Regions from separate parts of the Homo sapiens genome. Here all the other regions are linked to region 1. Evidence: promoter capture Hi-C in 16 types of primary human blood cells and fetal thymus (Javierre and others, 2016). All regions are on one chromosome and are shown on one strand. The core of a region is centred on a gene start or on the middle of the fragment in contact, and the rest is flanking DNA. Distances in the headings are between cores, read along the strand shown.

Region 1 (3,248 bases), core at 560-3,059:
TGGTTCTTCACCAAAGGGTTTGATTTTTGTATCTGATTGACTCACATTTCATCCATTATCAAACATTTTTTCTTGTTGAGGAATGCAAGGTTAAATAATCAAATTTAAATATGCTTTATCACTCACATGAAGCAAAAGGCATTATTATTTCCATGTTATATATAACAGAACCAAAGGCAAGAGAGAGATGTGTGATTAGATGGAAGTGCTCCATGCATATACCAAGTCTTAACTTACCTTCATTGGCAGAATACTTCACTAGTAAGATGCGACTTGAGCTTAAAGCAATGAATATGGCACCTAGCAGGAATGTATACATTGTTGACAAGGAGCATATTACAGGATGACTACAGCACTGTTTTTCCATTCCACTGTTTTTTAATTACCTTAAAGAGAAAAACACTTTCATGAACGACCTTGTTGGCAGACCCTAAACGCAAATACCATTGATCGTGAGGACAAAAAAGGAATTTTTAAAAAATTTTGGCTATGACTATATCAGCACCAAGAAAGTTGAGGCATAAAGAAACTATGACAAAAGGAAAGTGAAAATCTGATAAGAGGGAGTACTCTGGAGACAGAAAACGTAGAACCAGATTAGACCTGCTGACAAAGGTAGCAGGTGAGCAAATGACACTTTGCAACAGCAGAAAAGAATTCTTCAAAGCAATTTTGAATTTTATTTTTAAATTTTATTTATTTATGTATTTTGAGACGGAGTCTCGCTCTGTCACCCAGGCTGGAGTGCAACGGCGCGGTCTTGGCTCACTGCAACCCCTACCTACCGGACTCAAGCGATTCTCCTGCGTCAGCCTCCAGAATAGCTGGGACTACAAGCGCCCGCCACCACGCCCGGCTAATTTTTGTATTTTTAGTAGAGACGGGGTTTCACTATGTTGGCCAGGCTGGTCTCGAACTCCTGACTGTGATCCGCCCGCCTCTGCCTCCCAAAGTGCTGGGATTACAGGCGTGAGCCACCGCGCCCGGCCTCGCTTTTACTCTTATTAGTAAATAATTTTGCTGTAAGATAAGGCTTTCAGAATTGTATTTTCCTCCTCTTTTCCCTCGGAGGAAAAAGCTTATTAGGACAGACTTCATTACAATAACGACCAAAATGGAAATATCTGAAACACTGCTGTAAAGTTTTACTGAACTAGTTAGTGTTTGAAATGGAGGAGATCGTAGAAATCAATGAATCTAAGGCCCTCTTTTGATAGGCTGAGGACACTAAACCCCAGGTTGGGTAAGTAACTTGCCCAAAGCCTCCCAGCGTACTGTAGGAATAGCGCATAGAGCCTGCGGGGAGTGGGGAGAAATGCCAATACTGACAGCCCCATTGGGCGCACGCCTACAGGACGCCTCCCCGACAGGAGGGGGCCAGATTTCCCTTCACAGTCAGGGACTACCCTTCTAGTCACACATGCGCAGTAGGGCTCTTCACTGGCGCACCCTCCCCTCAGACGCAGGCGCAATTCCTTGCCCGCGGGGCGCGGTTACCTCCCTCAGAAGAGCTTCTAGTGGAAGAACGCACATCCTAGAGCTGAGACAGTAACTGTCTAGCCCCGTAGTAGCAGCAGTAGCCTTTAGGGTCCATACGTGGAGAAGCTACAGTAGGTATAGGCGAAAAAGCCCCTCCCTCTAAGCCGCCTATTGCAGAACAAAAACCACGATTACGTCCGGATTGGGAAAAAGCGGACCCGACACCCATTGCGCAGGCACGTTCAGTGTTACGCTTCCGGAAGGAGGGGAGAAGCGGCTTATCCCGCCCCAGCCCGGCCCCTTTCTCACGTCACGTGCCGGGAGAGTCTAGTGTCACGTGAGGCCCCGGTGGCGGCGCAGCTACGGCAAGAGAGTGAGAAGGAAGGGAAGCCGGAAGGGGCGCGAGTGAAGCAAAGCGAGGACAGACAGCTCGCAGAGGGCGAGGGGTGCGTGTGCGTCCGCTTCTCACCTCAGGTCTCCCTTCGGCCCCGCTGCCCTCCCTCGCGGCTGGGTGACAGCTGGGTCCGGTCCGTCGCGGGCTGCCTGGGGTGCGAGGATCGCGCACCCCGTCTTCGCGCGCTGTGCCTGCCGCCCCGCCCCCTCGTCCCGCCCGTCCCGTCGCGTCGCGTCCCGTCCCCTCGGGTGCTGCCAGCCGGGTGCTGATGCGAGTCGGTGGCAGCGAGGACATTTTCTGACTCCCTGGCCCCTGACACGGCTGCACTTTCCATCCCGTCGCGGGGCCGGCCGCTACTCCGGCCCCAGGATGCAGAATGTGATTAATACTGTGAAGGGAAAGGCACTGGAAGTGGCTGAGTACCTGACCCCGGTCCTCAAGGTAAGCCAGGCCAGGGTTGCCGGGAGCTGTCAGGCACATGCTCGACTTTTCAGGGACCAGGCGCCGCAGGAGTCCCCGCTTTCTCCGGCGGGGCAAGGTGTAGGAAGGCAGTAGGGCTCGAGACACAGGGAAGTGTGCAGCCCCCACCCGTAGTCTTAACCGGCTGTTCGTTAGGGCTTTCTGACTCCTCAGGGGTAAACTTGGAGCGACGCTCTGCGTGTTCCTGCCTTCTCCCGTCATAACTCTGCGCGGTCGGGTACGTCGGGTTGGAAGGGTGTTCGGAGGCTGAGTAGATTGAAGAACGTTAAATCCAAACACTGGAAGTCTTTTAGCCTTTTTAAGCAAGGATTTTGCTTCTCTTTAAAAAATGAATTTAGTGTTTGACACACAGAGGTCAAAAGAGACCTGAGGTGAGGTCACTTTTCCTTTAAGTTTCATGAAAGTCCGCTGTAGTGGGGAAGTTGTGACTGCGATCCCAACTCGTTTAGATTTCAGAGGAAGGAGGTGAAATTGGCAACATTATCTCATTCAGTAACCTTGAACCCATCTAACGAGCAAAACCTTTTTCCCAAGCTTTTCAGATAGCCGTAGCTGGTTATTAGTGATAACAAGGCACGGTTTGACCTTCCTGGCTGTATAATTTTTAAAAATATATTGGCAACAGTACAGCATTTTTAAAGTAAAAAATTGTGACACATTAGCTGTTACAGTAGTGACTGATTTTTTTTTTAAAGGTAAATTTCTACAACTGCCTTCAAGCTTTTCTTTTATAACTCTTTTGGAGTGTTTTGTTGTAACTTCATTTTTGCTTTCTGAAAAGTGAGCAAGAATAGTAAATTAATGGGAAGTTCTTGCTTAGTTTTTGTTTTTTTTTTCTAGTTGTTTTTAAGCTTTCAGTTAGAATGTACCAATCTCAGTGTGGGGGTGAAATACC
Region 2 (3,248 bases), core at 269-2,768, 1.5 Mb before region 1:
CCCCAGCTGGTAAGTGGCAGAGCAAGGACTTTAATTATTGAAGTCTAGTTTTCAGCGCTGTACTCTAATAGGCTGGGAGCTTATTAGAAGTTCCATCTGGTACACAAGCACATTATAATCTTAGTTTCCATTTTGCTATAGTGTTCTTCTTCTTTTCCCTTTCTCCCTCCCGCCTCTAATCCATCCTCCCAGTCTCTGCAATCTTTCTCCATTCTCATACAAATATTTAAACATACTTGCATATGGGAGGGAGTGTTTTGGTCAGGGTTTGCTTTTACAAAAATGGAAACATATTATACTATAATATATGCACTTCTCTGCAATTTGCTTTTCTCTCAAGAATAAACATTAGACGTCTTTCCTGAAGAAGAGACATAAAGCTAACTTACCCTTTTGAAAAAAACTACTTCGTGGTACTGCATAGTTTGTATGAGCACAATTTATTCAACCGCCTTTCAGACAGACCAGTTACAGAGCTGGTCCTAGGATCGCTGCAACAGTCCGAGGGCATAGCTTCCCTAACTTCATTTTCACCAATTTCAAATCAACTTTAGTTTACATTTCCTGGCAGAATGCTTCACATACATTTATTTTTAATCATTACAACACTCCAGTGATTCAGGTATTATCGTCCCCATTTTGCATGAGAAAACAGGGTCTCTGAGTTATTAAACAAGTTGCCTAGGGTCATATAGCCACAAAGTAGTTGAATTCAAAACTCCTGTTCTAAATCTTTACTCTGCTTTATAAGCCCATTTATCACCCCTAAATGGGCTGTCTCTGGAAACACCTCGGCTAAGCCAATAAGCCTGGATTTATCTTTGCTCCATGGGCCATCTCCATGGCCCCAGACCTCCCTAGGCACCTGGCTCAGAGATTGAAGACGGTCCCACCCTCCCATGGGCAGTTCGGAATAAAAACTTCCTGAAAACTCTACCTTTCAGCAGAGGCTAGTCGAAAGGGGCCCTTTTATCTCAGAGGTGTCGGCGACGCTCACACGATTTATGAGAATCTGAACTTACAGAAACCAATCCACCAGGACACCCTGAAAAGGGAAGCAGAGGAGACATGGCGGGAGTACAATCACCGTTACTGCAACACAACCAGGAAGCGTCTGGACGCGACGTGACTCATCCATCTCTAGCAGCTCCCACACCAGCAGGGCAAAGGGGCACTTACCTGCCAACAAACCATTCGACTCTTTCAGTCTTCAGACCCCTCAAACTCCTCACAGTTCACTACCACGTGTTGCAAAATTCTCTGCCCCAAAATCACTGCCTCCAGTGCAGAGCCAATCAGGGAGTACTGCGTCATCACTGGGCGCCAGAAAAAAAGCAAAGCCGACATTCAAGCGAGCCTTGATGACGGCAAGAGCGAGGGACCTCTGCCGTTGCTATGGTAACTGAGCCAACGCGAGCGGCCTGCGCAGAGCCTCGTGGGAGTGGTGGTTCGACGGTGTCCTATGCCTGCTTTCCTTGCGGGCGGAGGAACTACAATTCCCAGCGTGACCCGGAGGCAGCCCGGGCAGAAGGGCGGTTGCTGCAGCTTTGGCCGAGGTTCGGGCTCGAACTTGGAAAATGCTCCTGGCGCCTCAGGGAAGGTCCTTCTCAAAGAAAAGGATGGGGCTGAATCGCTGGAAACGGTTCACAAGGAAGCCGAGTCCCAAGGTGATCCCAATCGAGAGCTTTGGAGGGCGGGGACTTTCCCAAGGCGCGGCGCAGTCAGGAAGCCAGTCGCGGCCCGTCTGTGCTTCCTGCCTCTTCATCCTGAGCTGACACGCCCCTGCCTTGACCGCCCCAAAGCCAGCATTACCCTGAGTGAAATGCTCTAGGAGCTCTGGGGTCTGGGCACATTACGGCTTTGGTGGGCAGCATCGTGGAAGAACTGTTTGTAACGCTTTTCTAAAACCGGAGGTGTCTGCTAATGCCCATCGGGGTGAAAGGAGTTTGCAAACTCCGTTCCCCCTACCTTAAATTTTAGGAAACTTCTCGCACATTTCTTTCTTTTTCTCTCTCTTTTTTTTTTTTTGCAAATCTTGGGGTAATTGATCTTTATTAACGGGAGAGAGCTTCACATTAAATACCCTGCCTATATTCCTGCCCCTTCACTTTTACGTAAAGTATCTAAATAAACTCAGGAGTGCAAATGGATATTGAATACATTAATACTTGATTCACATAGTAATTTCTAAATTCAACCAACTTTCAAAAAATAGATTCTCTCCGTATCTATCACCCATTTGGATGCATTAGCACCTGAAGATAAGAAAAAAATAATAACCCCATTTTAAACTTGAAACATATGTGACATGTGCAAAGTCACAGTTGCACCGTGTGCTTTCCACAGACTACCTTTTTAACAGTCCCCAAAAAGATGCTTAAAATCTAAATGAGAGTACTAAAATGGAGAAGCTTCTCAGCTTTCAGCTACAGAGCAGTTTCACCAGCTGTTTTCACCCTTAAGTTATACTTTCCTAAATAATATTCTGTAGATGTATGTGGCCTTTTTGAGGGCCCCAGGCGATTGTTCTTGCGATTTATTCTAAATTTACCAGCTAAATGCATTGGACATATTCCACATGACAAATATGTTGCCCTAGATACTAGAGGGCACAGACTGAAGCATCAGGGAGACTTGGAAACTGAGGCTGCTGCTATTTCAATACATCAGTTGCATAATGTATTGGATCCAAGATAGGATATAGATATGGACTTGATGATGAAAGGTAAAAATTTAGAATAATTTCTTAGGACTCCAAAAGGAAGGATTTTTGCTGCTAGTGCTCATTATTACTGCCTAGAGAAAAAAAGGTAAAAACATAGGGCTTCTTCAAGTTCAGTTGTATTTTAATTAGATCAGCTCTTTCTTTGTTGCAGTGACAAAATTATTAAGCAGTACAGCTGCGTTAGTTATCAGTAAGATGCTTTGAAGGTAAAGTGTTAGGTAAGTGAAAGAGTATTATATTTTTCCCACCTCCATGTGTCAGTATGCTAGTTTAGATATCCCCTTATTTTATTATTATTATTATTATTATTATTTTAAAGAGTATATTTGAGTAAGAAGCAATTCATGAACTGGGAACGCCAAACCAAAAGAGATTTAGTGCTCCAATGACAAATCATCAGGATATCCCCTTATTTTAAAAACACACCTGAATTTTTAGTGAAGAAGATAACTCTATTTGTTAAGTGACTATTAGAGGGAATTCTGCAAGCTTCTGGGAGTTTCAGAGGTTGAAGAAAGGAAAT
Region 3 (3,248 bases), core at 478-2,977, 1.2 Mb before region 1:
TTAAGTGTCTATTTTGGATCACATTGAAGAGTTTGGTGTCAGTCAATCTGCTTCTTAGATTCATAGAGATACTTTTTCCTTTCTTGAACAAGTGAAATATTGGGCACTGAAACCAAGTGTGTTATATTCAAAATAATTTGTGGATTTTATAACTCATCTAAATAAAGCTCCTCGCTACCTCATTTTGCATTACCTACGACTAGGACTCACGGATTATCAAAAACTCACTTTTCACAAGAAAGGACCCAGCTATTCCTCTATTTAGCTAGCTACCACACTCTTAATGTTCAAATGCAATCTGATTCACTATTTAACTATTTGAACACTCTTACATAATTGCTTTGGTACATAAAATCAGCAACTTCACAATTATTAACAATTACAGCATTTTACTTTTTCAACAATATCTATTCAAACTTCGATTGATAGAATTTCAATGTATAAATCACATTAAGGAGTATTTCAAGTTATATCTAAAATACTTACTGTTATTTGAAAGTAGTAAGTCCAAAGGTCACACCTCTCATACTGACATTGTTACATTAATTCCATATGATAGTAACTTAAGCTATTACATGATGGTAGATCACACACAATTCAGGGATGCTAGAAATGTTAAAAGCACACCTTCCAAAGACCCAAGCTAAATGGCAGATTTTGGCAAATTACTAAGGACAAAGGTGAACTTCTGAACATCCCTAAATTGGAGAGCAATTTGGCAGTGCCCACCAAAATTCAAATTGTACTTACCTTTGACATGGCTAGTCCATTTCTAGGAATTTATTGTAGATGTACAAAATGTTCTATTAACAAAATATTAACTATAGCACTGTTTCTTAAGCAAAAGATTGGAATGTCCATTAATATGGAGGCTGGTTAAATACCTTGTAATACTATGACAGGCTACATGTTTAGCGGTATTATGGCAGCAATCTCTGGAAAGTGACTCCCTGGGCTCTAATCCTGAGCCCTACCACTTATAAACTGTGTGACTGTTGGACATTTAATCATCCCGTGCCTAGTTTTCCTCATTTGTTAAATATAGAAAAATAGTGCCTATCTCATAGGTTGTTATGAGGCTTCCATGAGTTAATAAAACTAAAGTATTAAGAAAGCATTTGGATCAGGAGTAAGCTCTCAATAAATGTTACATATGATGATGAGGGTATATTAATACAATTGAATACTAAACTATCATTAAAAAGAATGAGGCAGTTTTAACTGTATCAATGTGAAAAGATCTCCAACGTAATACTCAAGCGAAAAATGTAAGGTCCAGAATAATACGAAGAGGTGCTACCATTTGTGGATAAATATATGGGGGAAGAAAAGAATAAGGATGAGGGGAGAGAAAACACACTTGTATGAATATATAAATTTTACCATATTTGTACATGTATTACCCATTCAACTGAATTAAAAATATTGTTGGATGAGTAAATGAATGTTAAAACAACTGAGCCAAGTAAAACTATTATATATTGCACCTAATTGACTGAGCAAATAATAGCACATATTATTATTACATATATATTTTTCTGAGACAGGGTCTGGCTCTGTCACCCAGGGTCTGCAGTGGCACGATCTCAGCTCACTGCAACCTCTGCCTCCCAGGCTCAAGCAATCCTCCCACCTCAGCCTCCCGAATAGCGGGAACTAGATGTGTGTGCCACCACGCCTGGCTAATTTTTTTTTTTTTTTTTTTTGTACAGACATGGTTTTGCCATGTTGCCCTTCAATTCCTGGGCTCAAGCAATCCGCCTGCATCGGCCTCCCAAAGTGCTGGGATTACAGGTGTGAGCCACTGCACCCAGCTGGCAAATATATATACGGTCCTTATGTGCTAGTTATTATTCCAATCGCTTCTATTATTCACAACATCCAATGAAGTTAAATACTCTTATTATCCTTATTTTAAAGTTGAGAAAAATGCAATGCAAAAAGACACAAGTAACTCCTCCAAAGTCACACCACTAGGAAGCAGAGCCAGGATTTGACTCACACAGTCTGGTTTCCTTCATCTCTTTGTTATATTAATACTACTCTAAAATTATTTTTATTTACATATATCCCAACTCTTGTAAAAAAAACTTTGGACAGCTTACATTAAAGCACATATATGCAATTAATAAAACTGGTAATGAAAAGGGGAAGTAATACCAATGTGAGAAAAAAATACAGCTACTTTAAGTATGCAACAAATCCAACTCTAAAGCATCTGCTATTTTCTGTCTAGGCTTTGAATGATGTATTCTACGGAGATACTTTTAAAAGGACAGAAATCAAGTATTAAACAATTATAAGTACTTTTTATTTTGCTTCTTTAAAGAAGTTCTTGTTTAAAGTTTTCTTAAGGCAAGTTAATCTTGTAATCCAGTTTATATGCCAAAACCCAAATAGGGACTTTTCTTATGATTCTGTCATATGATTAAGTCAGGTGACAGATCCCACACTTGTGCAATGTGCTCTACACTCTAAGGCAGAAAGCGTGTCGATAGCACTGACTATCCATACCAAAAATAACATGCCAAATTTGTAATCCTATCTAGTAGTCCCTATCATTTTTTGGTACATTTTTCTTTTCTTTTTTTTTTTCTTACTTTTGAGACAGGGTGTCGCTCTGACGCCCAGGCTGGAGTGCAGTGGCACATTCGCAGTTCACTGAAACCTTGAATGCCCCGGGATCAAGTGATCCTCCCACCTCAGCCTCTTGAGTAGCTGGGACTACAGGTGCATGCCATCGTGCCCAAATAATTTTTTTAATTTTTAGTTTTTACTGGTAGAGGGGGGTCTTGCCATGTTGCCCAGGATGGTCTCCAACACCGGGCTCAAGCGATCTACCTGCCTCAGCCTCCCAAAGTGCTGGGATTACAGGCGTGAGCCACCATGCCCAGCCTGTTTTTCCTAATTACAGAAACACTTCATGTCCACTGTAAAAATAAAAACATATAATGTAAAGTGTAAGGAAGAAAGTAAATCATCTTAGTGCCCATTGTTTCCCATAATCCATCATATACACAGACATGTACAAACATGTAGTTTTATATAAATATGTTACTATGGATATTCTGTCTCTTTCCTTTTCTGCTTATTTCCTCTTTCCAACGGTGACAACCAGGTAAAAATATACAAAACTCATGGTGTTTTTCAACTGGTTTTATAAAAAATGAGTTATCATTACAAATGTTTCTCTGTACTTTGTATTTTTTTTTCTTAAGATACATGATGGCCTGGGCAATAAGGTGAAA
Region 4 (3,248 bases), core at 350-2,849, 1.1 Mb before region 1:
GCAACCATAGTTTTAGGTTTGATTTCATCTTAGGTATGTTAGTAGCTTCATCATACCTTAACTAGCATTGAATTCCTGTATAGACATCCGTTTTTTTCATATCTTTTCTTAATTTCATTAGTAGATGATTTATCTTCCGTGGCCCCGTAACAGTTGTACTTGTTTCTGTGCTAGCACTTAGCACACTGCCATAAGTATGTGTTTATATGCCTTCCCCACCATACTGCTAACCAGGGCCTCCATGTTGAGCAACTCCAGGGGGTACCATTCACATATTCTTGAATACCATTGCAACATGGCAGAAATAGAACTCCACTAACATAGGAAATGTGTTCTTTTTATCTTTGTATTTTTGGGACCTAACATTGTATTTGTGATTACTAGGCAGTTAATAAATGTTCTTAAATGAGTAAATGACTGCCATGTTATATATTATAAAAAGATAGCCATATACATCTTGAACGTAAGTTGATTTGGCATTAATTGATTTTGCTATTAAATATTTTTATGTCCTATACTCCTATTATAGATTTGTTAAAGGTTAGTAGAATCTAAGTGATTGTAGTTGTGACAGACCCCTTAAATATGTAATCTTCCTTCCAGTATGCACAGGCATATATGTGTCCTGAGTCTTTTACTCTGTGCTGTAAAGGTATACATTTATTATTCATAAAATATTTGTGGAACTCTTGCTAAAAGAAACGTGGTTAACTGTCCAATTGGATAATTTTTCTTTTTCTCATTAAAATTTCCATATGGGGACAATTGCACTACTTCAGAAGGCCAGATCTTTTAATTAGATCAGTAGGACATGATAAGTTGTTTCTATTAGTGTGCTAATACTGTGTTTTTAATTCAGTTCACCAAGTATTTATTATTTACCATGTGCCCAACACTGTTAGGTACTGAAGAGAATACAGAAATAGTAAATGGTGGACTCAGCTCATAAGAACGTTTTAGACTTATTAGGATTGTTTAAGGAACTCAATGGAGTATTCATTAGATGCTAAATTAAACATAAGTATGTAAAATCTATGACATAATGATTAATACAAAAAAAAGGAAAGACCAGATATTCTTTCAGCAGACATTTATTACTCAGTTACTGAGTGCTAATTGTTGAGGATACAAACATGAAATTTTTTTTCATGTTTGTATTCTCAGTAATATGAATAATATGAATTTTTTACATATTTGTATTCTCAATAATTAGCACTCAGTAATGGAGTAATAAGTTTCTACCATTTATTATAGTCTGGTGGTGAAAACTAGTAAGTATATAGATTGTATTTCATGTTAAGACATTGTGGAGTATTAGGATGTTTGGGAGTATGAAGAAGGGTATTTAGTCTAACCTCTAAGGCAGGGGTCCCCAAGTGGCCTGTTAGGAATCAGGCCGCACAGCAGGAGATGAGCTACCCTCCTGTCAGATCAGCGGCAGCATTAGATTATCATAGGAGTGCGAGCCCTATTCTGAACCACACATGCAAGGGATCTAGGTTGCATGTTCCTTATGATCATCTAATGCCTGAGATAGATGGAACAGTTTCATCCTGAAACCATCTGCTCCACTCCCTGTCCATGGAAAAATTGTCTTCCACGAAACCAGTCCCTGGTGCCAAAAAGGTTGGGACCACTGCTCTAGGGGTCAGAGAAATCTTTAAAGAGGATAATGAAGAGTTCTCAGGAATTCCTTAAACAGCAGAAACCAAAGAGAAGGAGATAAGGAGAAGAAATTGTAGTGTCACCGCTGTCTACCTCTGTGTCATTTGAGGGACCAGTTTCTCTTTGGTTATAAACAATAGAGATTGAATTTGGCTAAGCAGCAAATGGATACTGGATAAACTCACAGAAAGAAAGGGAGATAGAATAATGAAGGCTTGGGAAGGCCAGGAAAACAGAAGCTCCCAGGATCATAAGGATCCATGGGGCTAACTCAGCCTCAGCAAGATATTCTCCTTGTGCAGGGAGTCTTATTAGTTAGCCCCATGCCCACCCCAGAGGTGAGCCTGTGTTTGATGGTCCTATCAGATTTCAGGAATGGGACAGAGAAGATCTCCGAAGGAAAGGCAGGATATTATTGTCAGAAGGCCAAAACAACAGATTTATTACAAAGTTCATCGGATTTGGCAGTGTGGAAGTCTTTTGTTGAGCTTGGTTTAAGCAGTTTTAGGAATAAAAGTCAGGTAACAGCTGGTTGAAGAGTGAATAAGAAGTGAGGAAGAGGGGGTAGTAAGTGTAAACAACTTGTTCAAGAAGACTGGTGGTTGGGAGGAAGAATGGGGACACCTGTGGGGAGTTGCAAGGTCAGGAGAAAAATCAGTTTAGGTTTTTACATGGAAAAAGTTGAATAAGGATTTATTTTTATTTTTGTTGAGATGGGATCTCACTCTGTCTCCCAGGCTGGAGTGCAGTGGTGCGATCTTGGCTCACTGGAACCTTCGCCTCCTGGGCTCAAGCCATCCTCCTACCTCAGGCTCCTGATTAGCTGGGATTACAGGTTTGCAGCACCACACCTGGCTAATTTTTTGTATTTTTGGTAGAGATGGGGTTTTGCCTTGTTTCCCAGGCTGGTCTCAAACTCCTGAGCTCAAGTGAGCCACCTCCCTTGGCCTCTCAAAGTGCTGGGATTACAGGTGTGAGCCACCGTGCCTGGCCCTGAATAAGGATATTTTTAATGGAAAGGCACTAAGAGAGAAGGAGGGATTAATAATATATGAGAGAAAAGGGACATTATGTAAGAAGTTTACTAAGTAGCGAGAGTGATAGAGTCCAGAGTATAGGTAGAGGGTTTAGTTTTGCTAGAAATATTAGGGAAGATTTTATATAGGAGGATAGACTTGCACCGGACTTTAAAGGGTTGGTAGGATTTGGATAAACAGAGCAAAGTGGAAAGGTCATTTCAGTGGGAAAATAGCATGAATTTAGCATAAAGTGAAGTAGCTGATAAGGCGCACAGGGATAAACCTGTCTGAATTGAAGAGGAGGGAAGGGTAGATGGCATAATTAGCTAGAAAACCTGCTTTTATGTGTGTTGTACTAGGTGGAAGGGGGTAGGTGAGACCTGCCAGTGAAGAAGGTACAGTCATGAATGCCAAGACCTGGAGTTTGGATATGATGCAGTTGATTGTGGGAAATAGTACTGTAGAGTCTGCAGCAGGAGAGGACATGGTAAATATGGTGAACTGAAAAGACTGATGAGACATTGGGGTATAAAATCCATCAAATGGGAGAAAGGCTGAGGGCAA

The links. Contacts are between HindIII fragments. The CHiCAGO score rates a contact against its expected background, and 5 or more counts as called.
Region 2: the fragment with the promoter of CCDC191 here is called in contact with the fragment with the promoter of ATG3 in region 1 in 1 of 17 cell types (fetal thymus); the score reaches 5.2 in fetal thymus.
Region 3: a fragment that was not itself captured here is called in contact with the fragment with the promoter of ATG3 in region 1 in 1 of 17 cell types (erythroblasts); the score reaches 5.6 in erythroblasts.
Region 4: a contact is called between a fragment that was not itself captured here and the fragment with the promoter of ATG3 in region 1, in 1 of 17 cell types (neutrophils). The highest score is 6.0, in neutrophils.

Annotation. Positions count from the first base shown.
Region 1 is chr3:112,560,523-112,563,770 of GRCh38, reverse strand. ATG3 (autophagy related 3) reads left to right here and starts at 1,809. Exons shown (of 12, transcript NM_022488.5): 1 at 1,809-2,314. The coding sequence starts at 2,243. SLC35A5 (solute carrier family 35 member A5) reads right to left here and starts at 1,726. Exons shown (of 7, transcript NM_017945.5): 1 at 1,498-1,726; 2 at 238-386. The coding sequence starts at 367. RefSeq lists enhancers at 1,428-2,237, 2,238-3,047. The HindIII fragment of the contact is 1,809 bases long and covers 1,081-2,889 here.
Region 2 is chr3:114,054,796-114,058,043 of GRCh38, reverse strand. It overlaps CCDC191 (coiled-coil domain containing 191), which reads left to right and starts at 1,518. Exons shown (of 17, transcript NM_020817.2): 1 at 1,518-1,667. The coding sequence starts at 1,578. QTRT2 (queuine tRNA-ribosyltransferase accessory subunit 2) reads right to left here and starts at 1,307. Exons shown (of 10, transcript NM_024638.4): 1 at 1,180-1,307; 2 at 938-1,045. RefSeq lists an enhancer at 1,367-1,776. The HindIII fragment of the contact is 7,070 bases long and covers 1-2,413 here.
Region 3 is chr3:113,753,890-113,757,137 of GRCh38, reverse strand. The region is part of intron 1 of ATP6V1A (ATPase H+ transporting V1 subunit A); the gene reads right to left. Among named protein-coding and RNA genes, the nearest start is that of ATP6V1A, 8.5 kb to the right of the region's middle. The HindIII fragment of the contact is 6,510 bases long and covers 1-3,248 here.
Region 4 is chr3:113,690,316-113,693,563 of GRCh38, reverse strand. All of the region lies in intron 1 of USF3 (upstream transcription factor family member 3), which reads left to right. Among named protein-coding and RNA genes, the nearest start is that of USF3, 4.7 kb to the left of the region's middle. The HindIII fragment of the contact is 3,967 bases long and covers 1-3,248 here.